2 separate regions of the Homo sapiens genome follow, and region 1 is linked to region 2. Evidence: promoter capture Hi-C in 16 types of primary human blood cells and fetal thymus (Javierre and others, 2016). All regions are on one chromosome and are shown on one strand. The core of a region is centred on a gene start or on the middle of the fragment in contact, and the rest is flanking DNA. Distances in the headings are between cores, read along the strand shown. Region 1 overlaps CNKSR3 (CNKSR family member 3). Region 2 holds the start of CNKSR3 (CNKSR family member 3).

Region 1 (4,988 bases), core at 1,848-4,347, 110 kb before region 2:
TGAGATTACAGGCATGAGCCAACTGTGCCCAGCCAGCCTTAGTATTTATAGACCTGGTTTCCTCAGGTCCAAATCCCTCTCCTTCAATCAAATGTTATACAACTGCAACTGTCCTCCACGTCGCCTCCATTTATAGAGCATTCTATGACCTTACCTCCCCACCATTAACTTTTCCCTGGCTAATTTGAAACTGCCTGTACGAGCTTTAAATGAGTTCTTTGTGGACTTCGGAAAGTGCTTACATTCTCAGCAGTTCCTGTAATCCTGTAACCAAAGAAGCGTTGTTGATGGCCAAGGCTTATTCTTCCTACAAATATGATTGAGTTCTGACACCTGGTATAATGTTTTCTTTAAAATGAGAGCCAATGTAATAAAATTCTTTATGGAATAGTCTGCAAAATGCTTTAATATATTAATAAAATTAAAACAATTTTCACAGAAAATTTTAATAATTTTTTCTAACTTCTTTTCTGATTGCACAGTTAATTTTACCATCTAGTTACTTCAATAATATTTTCTCTGCCTACAGAGCAAATATAAGGGTAAATTATACAGACCCTGCTTTAGAAAGGCTCACAATTCAAGCTGGTCTAACACGATGAGTCAATGCTATGGAAAAACAGAAGAGACCAGTTAATTCTATTCAGAGTAAGATCAAGGAGGACCTCATATGGATGACCTTGGGACTTACTGGGGTAACTAGACCGAGAAGGATGAGTCCATTATCAGGATTTAAGAATCCAGAACTAAGTGCTAAGTAAGGGGTTTAAGGAAAGCATCAGCAAAAATTCACTAATTGTTTTCTTTTTTTTTTTTTTTTGAGACGGAGTCTCGCTCTGTCTCCCAGGCTGGAGTGCAGTGGCGCAATCTCGGCTCACTGCAAGTTGCGCCTCCCGGGTTCACGCCATTCTCCTGCCTCAACCTCCCGAGTAGCTGGGACTACAGGCGCCCGCCACCACGCCCGGCTAATTTTTTTTTTTTTATATTTTTAGTAGAGACGGGGTTTCACCGTGTTAGCCAGGATGGTCTCGATCTCCTGACCTTGTGATCCACCTGCCTCAGCCTCCCAAAGTGCTGGGATTACAGGCGTGACCCACCGCGCCCGGCCTCACTAATTGTTAGTTTAAATTACCACCTACATGAAGTCTTATACCCTGGCTTTGTATTTTATGTTGGCTAAAGAGAATGATTCAATAAGACTATAGGATAAAGGCACCATTAAAGGTGCTTCAGTGGCATTCTTTCATTGAGGAGAAATCTGCAGAAGGGTAGCACTTTCTAGTAAAACATAGTACTCTAAACACGGTTAGCTTACATGTTCTTCCATTTATTTAAGTGCCTTAAAAACAAAAGGAGAAGCAAAACCCTGAAAGATCTTGGTTTAATTCTTTTCTTCTCTAAAAGTAGGTTTCTGTTTTTTGGAGGGGATTTAATTGCTCATCTGATCTGAATGCCCATGACCAGCTCTTGTTTATCATTGGCATGGCCATGAACACAAACAATATAAAATGCCAATTTAACCAATCCACCATGCTTGTTTTTTCTTTTTTCCTAGGAATTAACAGTGGCAGGCCCTGGAAATAGATGGGTAAGAGCAAATCTGTGGTCATCAACTAGGTGCACAGTCCAGTGGGTGTGTGAGATGCATGCACAGGGCAGACAGTAGAGCCTGCAACTGTGATGGAATTAACAGGGTAGGCCCTGCAAACAGATGAGTAAAAGCAAATCTGCGGCCATCACTAGGTGCACAGTGCAGTGGGGGTGTGTGAGATGCACAGGGCAGACAGTACAGCCTGCAACTGTGATGGAATTAACAGGGTAGGCCCTGGAAGATGAGTAAAAGCAAATCTGCGGCCATCACTAGGTGCACAGTGCAGTGGGGGTGTGTGAGATGCACAGGGCAGACAGTACAGCCTGCAACTGTGGCGCAGGCGCAGAACAGGATTGAATTTCGCTAAAAAGACAAAGGAAGAAAAAGTATGGTCTCTGTCCTCAGGGCATTGCAACCCATTAGGCTGAATCATATGAACTGCAGATTATGCAGGTAAAATATGGCCACATATCCACACCTTCACAGGGCTCTGCCTGACACACGGAGGACACAATCACAAGAGCCAAAGCAGGGAAGGGGCAGGGAAAAAGTGGACACAACCCCACCCCAGTCCAGTGGTGCGGATCAATAAATCGAGACTTACGGCCAATCTGAAATAGATTCTATTCATGAAAGTCCTTCCAGAAACAACATTCAGGATGACGGCATCAGTGTTAGCCAAGTGTCTGAGTGGTCTGGGTGTCACATCTGTGTGTGTGCCCAAATGGATGAAATTTATGCACAACCAATAAGCCCCACAAAAGTGATTGTTATGCTGAGCCGAACAACCATTTTTTACTTCCCTTTGTCTCTCCCATAGCTTCTCTTTCCTTTTCACTTCCTGGACCTACCAAAGCCTTGGCCTTGGGTGGGGAGGCATCCAGTGACTGTCCTTTTCAGCTTCAACAATGGCAACACAATCTCTTGGCTTTGTATTTGTGTAAGAGTTCCTTTTCACGATGAGAATGTCCAAAATAGATACCATTCTACATTATTCCTTTATTTAAAACCACAGGAAACATAGAAACGAGTTTGAGGAATACCACTTCAAGATGGGAATGGGAGGCAAAAATAATTCAGCCAACTAGGAGGTGGGCAAAATGCTCCGATTCCCTTTGTTTTCATATACGATTTCATTGAAGGAAGTGGAAGGGATTTAATAGAAAAGATATGATGATGACAAATCAAGTCAATATTGAAAGAATACTCTAGGCGGGGCGCAGTGGCTCACGCCTGTAATCCCAACACTTTGGGAGGCTGAGGTGAGCGGATCACCTGAGGTCGGGAGTTCGAGACCAGCCTGACCAACACGAAGAAACCCCATCTACTAAAAATACAAAATTAGCCGGGTGTGGTGGCACATGCCTGTAATCCCAGCTACTTGGGAGTCTGAGGCAGGAGAATCACTTGAACCCAGTAGGCGGAAGTTGCGGTGAGCCAAGATCGTACCATTGCACTCCAGCCTGGGCAACAAGACTGAAACTCCGTCTCAAAAAAAAAAAAAAAAGTGTGTCCAATCACAGACTTTTGTCATTTCTTGAGTTCTGAATCGGCTAAAACATCCGAGTGAGTTTTCTAACAGTAAAAGCTGCATCTCTAGGCCACTGACCACACTGCAGCCCTCTGACAGTGTCACACTGGCATTATTTTGCTGCTTATGGACAAAAGAATGAGCAATTTCCTGTTGGCCAGCTCTGAATACCTTATTCACTAGAGGCTGAGATGGAGTCAGTACTGCTACTACAGGAACACGAGTCAACATCTCTTAAATGCTGTGTGCCAGACTATGCGAAGAAAGGGCCTTAAAAACATTATCTCATTTAATCACCATAAGCCTTCGAAGTAGATGCTAGTATTATCCCCATTTCATAGATAACTGAGGAGTGGAGAGGTCAGTCACCTGCTTCAAGTCACAGATCCCATAAGTGGCAAAGTGAGACAGCTGGATGATCCAACTTCAAAAGCTGAGCCCCCGCCTGCTTCTATCTGCTTGATGCAAATTCCCAAAAGTCAAAGGCTTCTAAATTCGCGCTAATTCCTCAAATCCCTCCTCTTATCCTGGTGCAGCCTCAGTTGGAGTGACAGGAAGTTTAGATATGAGTAAGAAAACGGAACCTGACACTGAGTTAAAAGGACAATTTCTTCCTTCAGAGACAATCTTACTTTATATTAAACTTCATTTCTGAAGCTCCCTGATTCTCTAAAATAATCAAAATGTTCAGCCCAAGATATGTCAAAATGGTGAAGAAATATCTTAAAATCCAGTTTTCACCCCTCTAACAATAAAGTTAAATCCTCCCCTTTAATGGGTCTAGTCAGTGGAAGAACATTTCTCTCATTTTAATCATTTTTCTCCTGATATTTTCTCTCCTTTTAATCATTTCTTCACAAACATCTGAATGTTTATGCTCCAGGCAAGAGGAGAGAAAATGATGAGAATATCCTTATCCCTGGGTGTGAGGAGTAATTACTCTACTGCCCTTTTAAATACCTTTGAGGTTTATTTCTTAATTTTTTTCCTCCAACTTCAGTTTCACAACTTCTTCATGAAACAAGGAGCTTGGTAAAGGAGGCCAGCAAGTAACAGGTTGGCTGTGAGCGTGACATGAATGCTCAGGCTGTAAACTGTCTTCCTCAGAGAGCAGTGACTCCAATGGTCAGTGACATGCAGGAGGAAACGCAGGATTAGGACCGACTTTCCTTAGGTGTAGCCTCACGTTTTAATCCCTGAGGTATGTTGTAAATGGGCAGCGCATGAACAGGTGATCAACTCAGAAGACGAGCTTCATAAAGGTTGCCATAGAACTTTAGAATATGCCTATGGATGGCCAAGTCACAACCAGAATTGAGTCCTTAATCACTGACCCCATGTGTATTTCTATGGAAGGGGAGTGCAGTATGTGGCCCAAAGGTTCTGAAAAACTGTGTGTGACAGTCTCCTGGCTGTGTAGCATTTTTTGTTGCTTATAGACAAAATTTCTCTCCTCTATCCAAATCAGTAGGCCATAGGCCATTATTTAAGACAAACTTTTGAGTATAAAAAATTTGTCTTTTACATACACAAATGCACACATATATAGGGTTTGGGACAGACTCCACACCCCTAAAACTAGAGGAAAAACAAGGCCCTCTAGCAGGTCTGAACATGATGTAATCACTTTTTCCTTTACTTATGTAAAAGGTACCCTTTGTCAAATTAGCACACTTCTGGCAATAATTCTGGCCCCAAATAAATAGAAACTTTAAGTTGAAACTTGGCAATTGTGAAATTTCCAAATAATTAAAAGGTAAATTTTACAGTAAAGAGACTAATTTTTTTCTAATTCCATATGCTATAGGCTACAAAATATATATTTAAATTCCCTTAGGTATTACCAAATGTGTGTTGAGGTCCTCA
Region 2 (4,378 bases), core at 1,789-4,288:
ACGTATCCAGGTCTTTCTACTAAGCTGTATTTCAGGGTCCAAAAGGGCACAGGCATTTTGTATAACGTAGTCAAGTGCCAACCACAGGTATGTAACCTAGTAAGTATCGTAGGTATTGAGCCAGCCATAGATGTTCTTTCAGGTCAGGAGAAAACTTTTCCTAGATGAAAGTAACTCAACTAACTGATAACGTCAAGGCAACTGGCTAACAAAAACGTTTTAATCTACTTTCCCTTTTAAATACTCAACAAACATAACAGGATGTGATTTTACGCTTCTCCTTTTCCAATCCCAAGAGGGACAAAAACAACAACAACAACAACAACAAAACCAGACACAAATCTTGAGGGTGTGAAGATCTCACTCCATAATCTTCCTGTGCGCCTGTTACCATTTTTCTGATTGTACATTATCAACTAAGCTGGCAGAGGCTCAGAAAAGCCAGGGTGATAAGATGTAACCCTTTCTTTCTGCTACAGCAGAACTGTCCAATAGAAATATAATGGAAGCCACAAATGTGAGCCCTGTGTTATTTTAGATTTTCTAGGAGACATATGTAAGAAGGTAAAAATAAACAGGTGAAGCTTATTTTAGTAATATATTTTATTTAACCTAACGTATCAAAATACTATCATTTCCACATGTAATAAAAAGTATTAAGATATTTCATGTTCTTTTTTTTCATACCAAGTCTTCAAATGCCATGTGTATTTTAGACTTACAGCACATTGCAATTCTAACCAGCCACATTTCAAGGGCTGCAGAGCCACAAGTGGTACTGGTTACTAAGTTGGACAGAGCGGCTCTAGAAGTCAACAGTAGCTGAAATTTGCAGTGTCTCAAGTTGGCTCTATGAGGGACATACAGATAAAATACATATCAACTCAGTTTCAGGAAGCTGCCAGCCTAGGGAATTTGGCAGCATCTTGAATGGAGGAACACACCTCATTTCAAGCTAGCGTGGGCATGGATGGCTTTTAAGCTCATGCTTCCTACCAAGTACTGGCAATGCCACTTACTCTTTACCAAGGGAAACCTAGTCACCAAGGCAGAAACATGTGTTGTTTTTAGCTTCATTTTATATAGGAGTCCAGGAAATTCTGCTCACTTGACAAACCCGTTCTCAAGGAGTTCTCCCAGAGGAGCAGGAAATGGTCAGACATACCCACTGACACACCCCACACACCTCGGACATCCTATTCCACGTGGTCTATGTGTAAGTCACAGGCGTGAGAAATGAGATGTAGCGGTGATCAGTTTTCATTATGCTGCAGCCATGGGTGGGACGGTTTGAAAGACGACCTGGTCTTACCAGTATTACCTACCTCACAGGCTTACTGTGATGACCAAGGACAATAACAGAGAGAGCTCTTAGCAAACTGTAAAGCGCTACACAATTCTAGTTATTACTGAGAAAGAACACCATTCCTCACCTGGAAGAGCAGATAGAAAAACAAATAGTAACTTGAAACAGAGATGTCGTTGGGGGTGGGGGGAAACCATGAAAATACAGATTGTTCTTGGTGGACTTTGTTCTCTTGAAAGTACAGAAAAGGGTTGAGTAAACTCTAGTACCTTTCCCTCGAAATCGTAGGAGACATTGAAAAGTAAGCGAGCCAGCTAGGAGGACAAGCTTCTACCTCTGCTCATTCCCCCCACCACCCCCCCACCGCCCCAGCCCCACTGCCTTCCTCATCCCAAATATTGTATGAATCAAGACAGTGGTTCCAAACAATTATATTTCTCCTTCCCAGTGCTTACATGTGGCCTGAAAATGCAGCGCCACCGGGGATACTGGCGCCTCCCGGAGCAAAAGTCACTGCCTCCCGGGGAGTCCTGGCTCGAGGTTTCTCCCTGGCGCAAATGCTATGGTGTTGGCTTTTGCGCGGCCCTCTCGCCTTCTCCAACAAAAACAGACAGGCTCGGCGGACCCGCCGGAGTCTCCCTCTACCTGTCCGACAGCCCTGTCACGCCTGCGGACGGCTCTGGGCAGGCGGCATGGACGAGGTCCCGCGGGAGTCACCCACACAAAGGCACCTTGTGCCTCTGCACTCGGGCCCCCGGGTCGCCGGGCACCGCACCGGGGCCAGGCAGGGAGAGCGCCCCCCGGCCCGAGTGCCGAGTCCCGAGATCGGCATCCCCAGCCCTCAACCGCCACAGAAAGGCCACCCCTACTCCCTGGTTTAAAGATAGGGCTCCCCTCGGCTTGCCACAATCCGCACCCTGGAAAGGAAGAGCTCGGAGCAGGTACGAGAGATAGGAGCGCACAGGCCACTCGGCAGAAGTTTGCATTGTCACCGGGCTGTGCCCTCACCGCTTCTCGCCGGGAGGAAGGGCCAAGTACCCTCTTCCCCAGCTCCTCGTCCGCCCCATCCCCGAGGCTGGAGGACTCCGGACCCCCCCAAGGCCCGCGCACCTCTAGTCCAGTCCACCACTTGTTTGGGGCTCCACTTGGTCACGGGTTCCATGGTAAACCGCTTCGCCTCTCGCTGGGCTGGAGAGTCGCAGATAAAGTGCTGCTGCCTGCGCTCCGGTGCCCCTTCCCGGGAGGGCGCGCCCGCGGCTGCTCCCCTGCGCCCGAGCGACTCCGTCAAGACTGCATGGCCGCGGTCAGCCAGTCGTCCCAGCGCGGCTCCGCCAGGGGAGCCCGGCCCTCTCCCTCCAGCTGCCACAGTCCAGCTGCAGCTCCTCCTTCCCCCGCCGCCGCCGGGATCCCGGGCACAGCTGCTGCTCCCGAGCGACGGCAGCTGCAGGCACGCCGGGCTGCGACCCCAGACCCCTGGCCTCGGCTCGGCACGGGAGCCTCCCGGCCCGCGACCACTTCCTCGGATCTCTCGAGGCGCGATCGGCTCTCCCTCGGCCGGTCTTCTCGCCTGCTGGCTCTCCGGGGTCCCCGCTCCGCGTGCGCTGGCGTCCCGGAGCCTTCCCGGCGCAGGTCCCACCTCCTGCGCCGCCCTCCCGTGCCGCCCTGGCAGGGCCGAGCGCAGAGCGTGCGCGCTCGGGTTGCAAAGTTTCAGCTCCGGTTGCTGCAAACCGAATAAAAGAGAGGGCGGGGCCGAGGGTCTAGGGAAACTCGTGGGAGGGGGCGGGTCCGCCCGAAGCGGCGGACTCGGGTTACTTTCCCTCTCTAAGCCGGTCCGGCTCACACCCGCAGCGTCCCGGGCCCCGCTTTCCTTTTCAAGGGGCGGGTTGTAGATCGCGCGCGCACCCTGGAGAGCCCGCTGGTTTGTGTGAGGCCCTGGCCCTGTGGGTAGCAGAACACTCTGTCTCGCTGTGAGCAACAATACACTAAAAAAAAAAGAAAAGAAAAAAAAAAGTAAGATCTGCATGTTCTGTTCATTTTAAATGCTTTATATCGTAATACTACTCTGCCATTAAGCCGTCATTTTAGGTTTCTTAAAGTAGAACAATTTTTTTTTTTAGATGGAGCCTCGCTCTGTCGCCCAGGCTGGAGTGCAGTGGCGCGATCTCAGCTCACTGCAGCCTCTGCCTCCCAGGTTCCAGCGATTCTCCCGCCTCAGCCTCCGGAGTAGCTGGGATTACAGGCGTCTGCCACTACGCCCGGCTAATTTTTGTATTTTTAGTAGAGACAGGGTTTCACCATGTTGGCCAGACTGGTCTCGAAATCCTGAACTCAGGTGATCCGCCAGCCTCGGCCTCCCGAAGTGCTAGGATTACAGGCCTGAGCCACCGCGCCAGGCCAGAACAATTTTATTTCATTTATATGTTGACTGAAATCGTAACAATGTAACTCTTTTAATGCTATTGCTATGAAATTTCAACTTTGCGACTAAAATTAGATTGATGGCTTTTAGCGTTATATTTTGCTATATTATAATTTCATATTTACAGAGTGAGCTAATGCTCCTTGGGATTAGTCATTAACCGTGAGAGGAAAGCTGTTAGCCAAGAAAAAAAAAATAGCTCGTGCACAATTTCAGCGCCTGGCAGGGGAGGGCCCTTCCACATTCATGGACTGCAACTGGGGCCAGAGTTAATGCTAAACTGGGGGAAAATCTAATTTGAATGCCTGCCTCTCCTTCAAGTTCTCCCTGCATCCTAACCGCCCCCCCAACCCCTGCCACCCTCGCCACCACCCCTCCCCTCACCCCCCAACACCCCCCCCAACCCCCCACCCCCGCCCCGCCCCGCCCAGCAACCTCTTCCTCCCACTCTTTTTGGCACTGAATGATTCTTACTTTCAATTACGGTTATTTATTTACATCTTCCTCTTGGAGACTATTAACCCCTTGAGGGCAGAACCTACTTGATCTCATATAGAGTTTTCTCTCCTCCCTTTCTTCCTACCACCTAACTTGTAGCACCCAGCACGGGACCAAAGGCAAGGTTGGTATTTATTCATTCAGTAAATATCCGG

What was found. The method cuts DNA at HindIII sites, captures the fragments that hold promoters and counts their contacts. A CHiCAGO score of 5 or more calls a contact.
Region 1: a contact is called between a fragment that was not itself captured here and the fragment with the promoter of CNKSR3 in region 2, in 1 of 17 cell types (megakaryocytes). The highest score is 5.1, in megakaryocytes.

What each region holds. Positions count from the first base shown.
Region 1 is chr6:154,395,998-154,400,985 of GRCh38, forward strand. It overlaps CNKSR3 (CNKSR family member 3), which reads right to left. Exons shown (of 13, transcript NM_173515.4): 13 at 1-4,988. Among named protein-coding and RNA genes, the nearest start is that of IPCEF1, 42 kb to the left of the region's middle. The HindIII fragment of the contact is 7,956 bases long and covers 1-4,988 here.
Region 2 is chr6:154,507,647-154,512,024 of GRCh38, forward strand. CNKSR3 (CNKSR family member 3) reads right to left here and starts at 3,039. Exons shown (of 13, transcript NM_173515.4): 1 at 2,417-3,039. The coding sequence starts at 2,468. LOC101928868 (a long non-coding RNA gene) reads left to right here and starts at 3,145. Exons shown (of 2, transcript XR_001744422.2): 1 at 3,145-3,316. The HindIII fragment of the contact is 4,325 bases long and covers 1,632-4,378 here.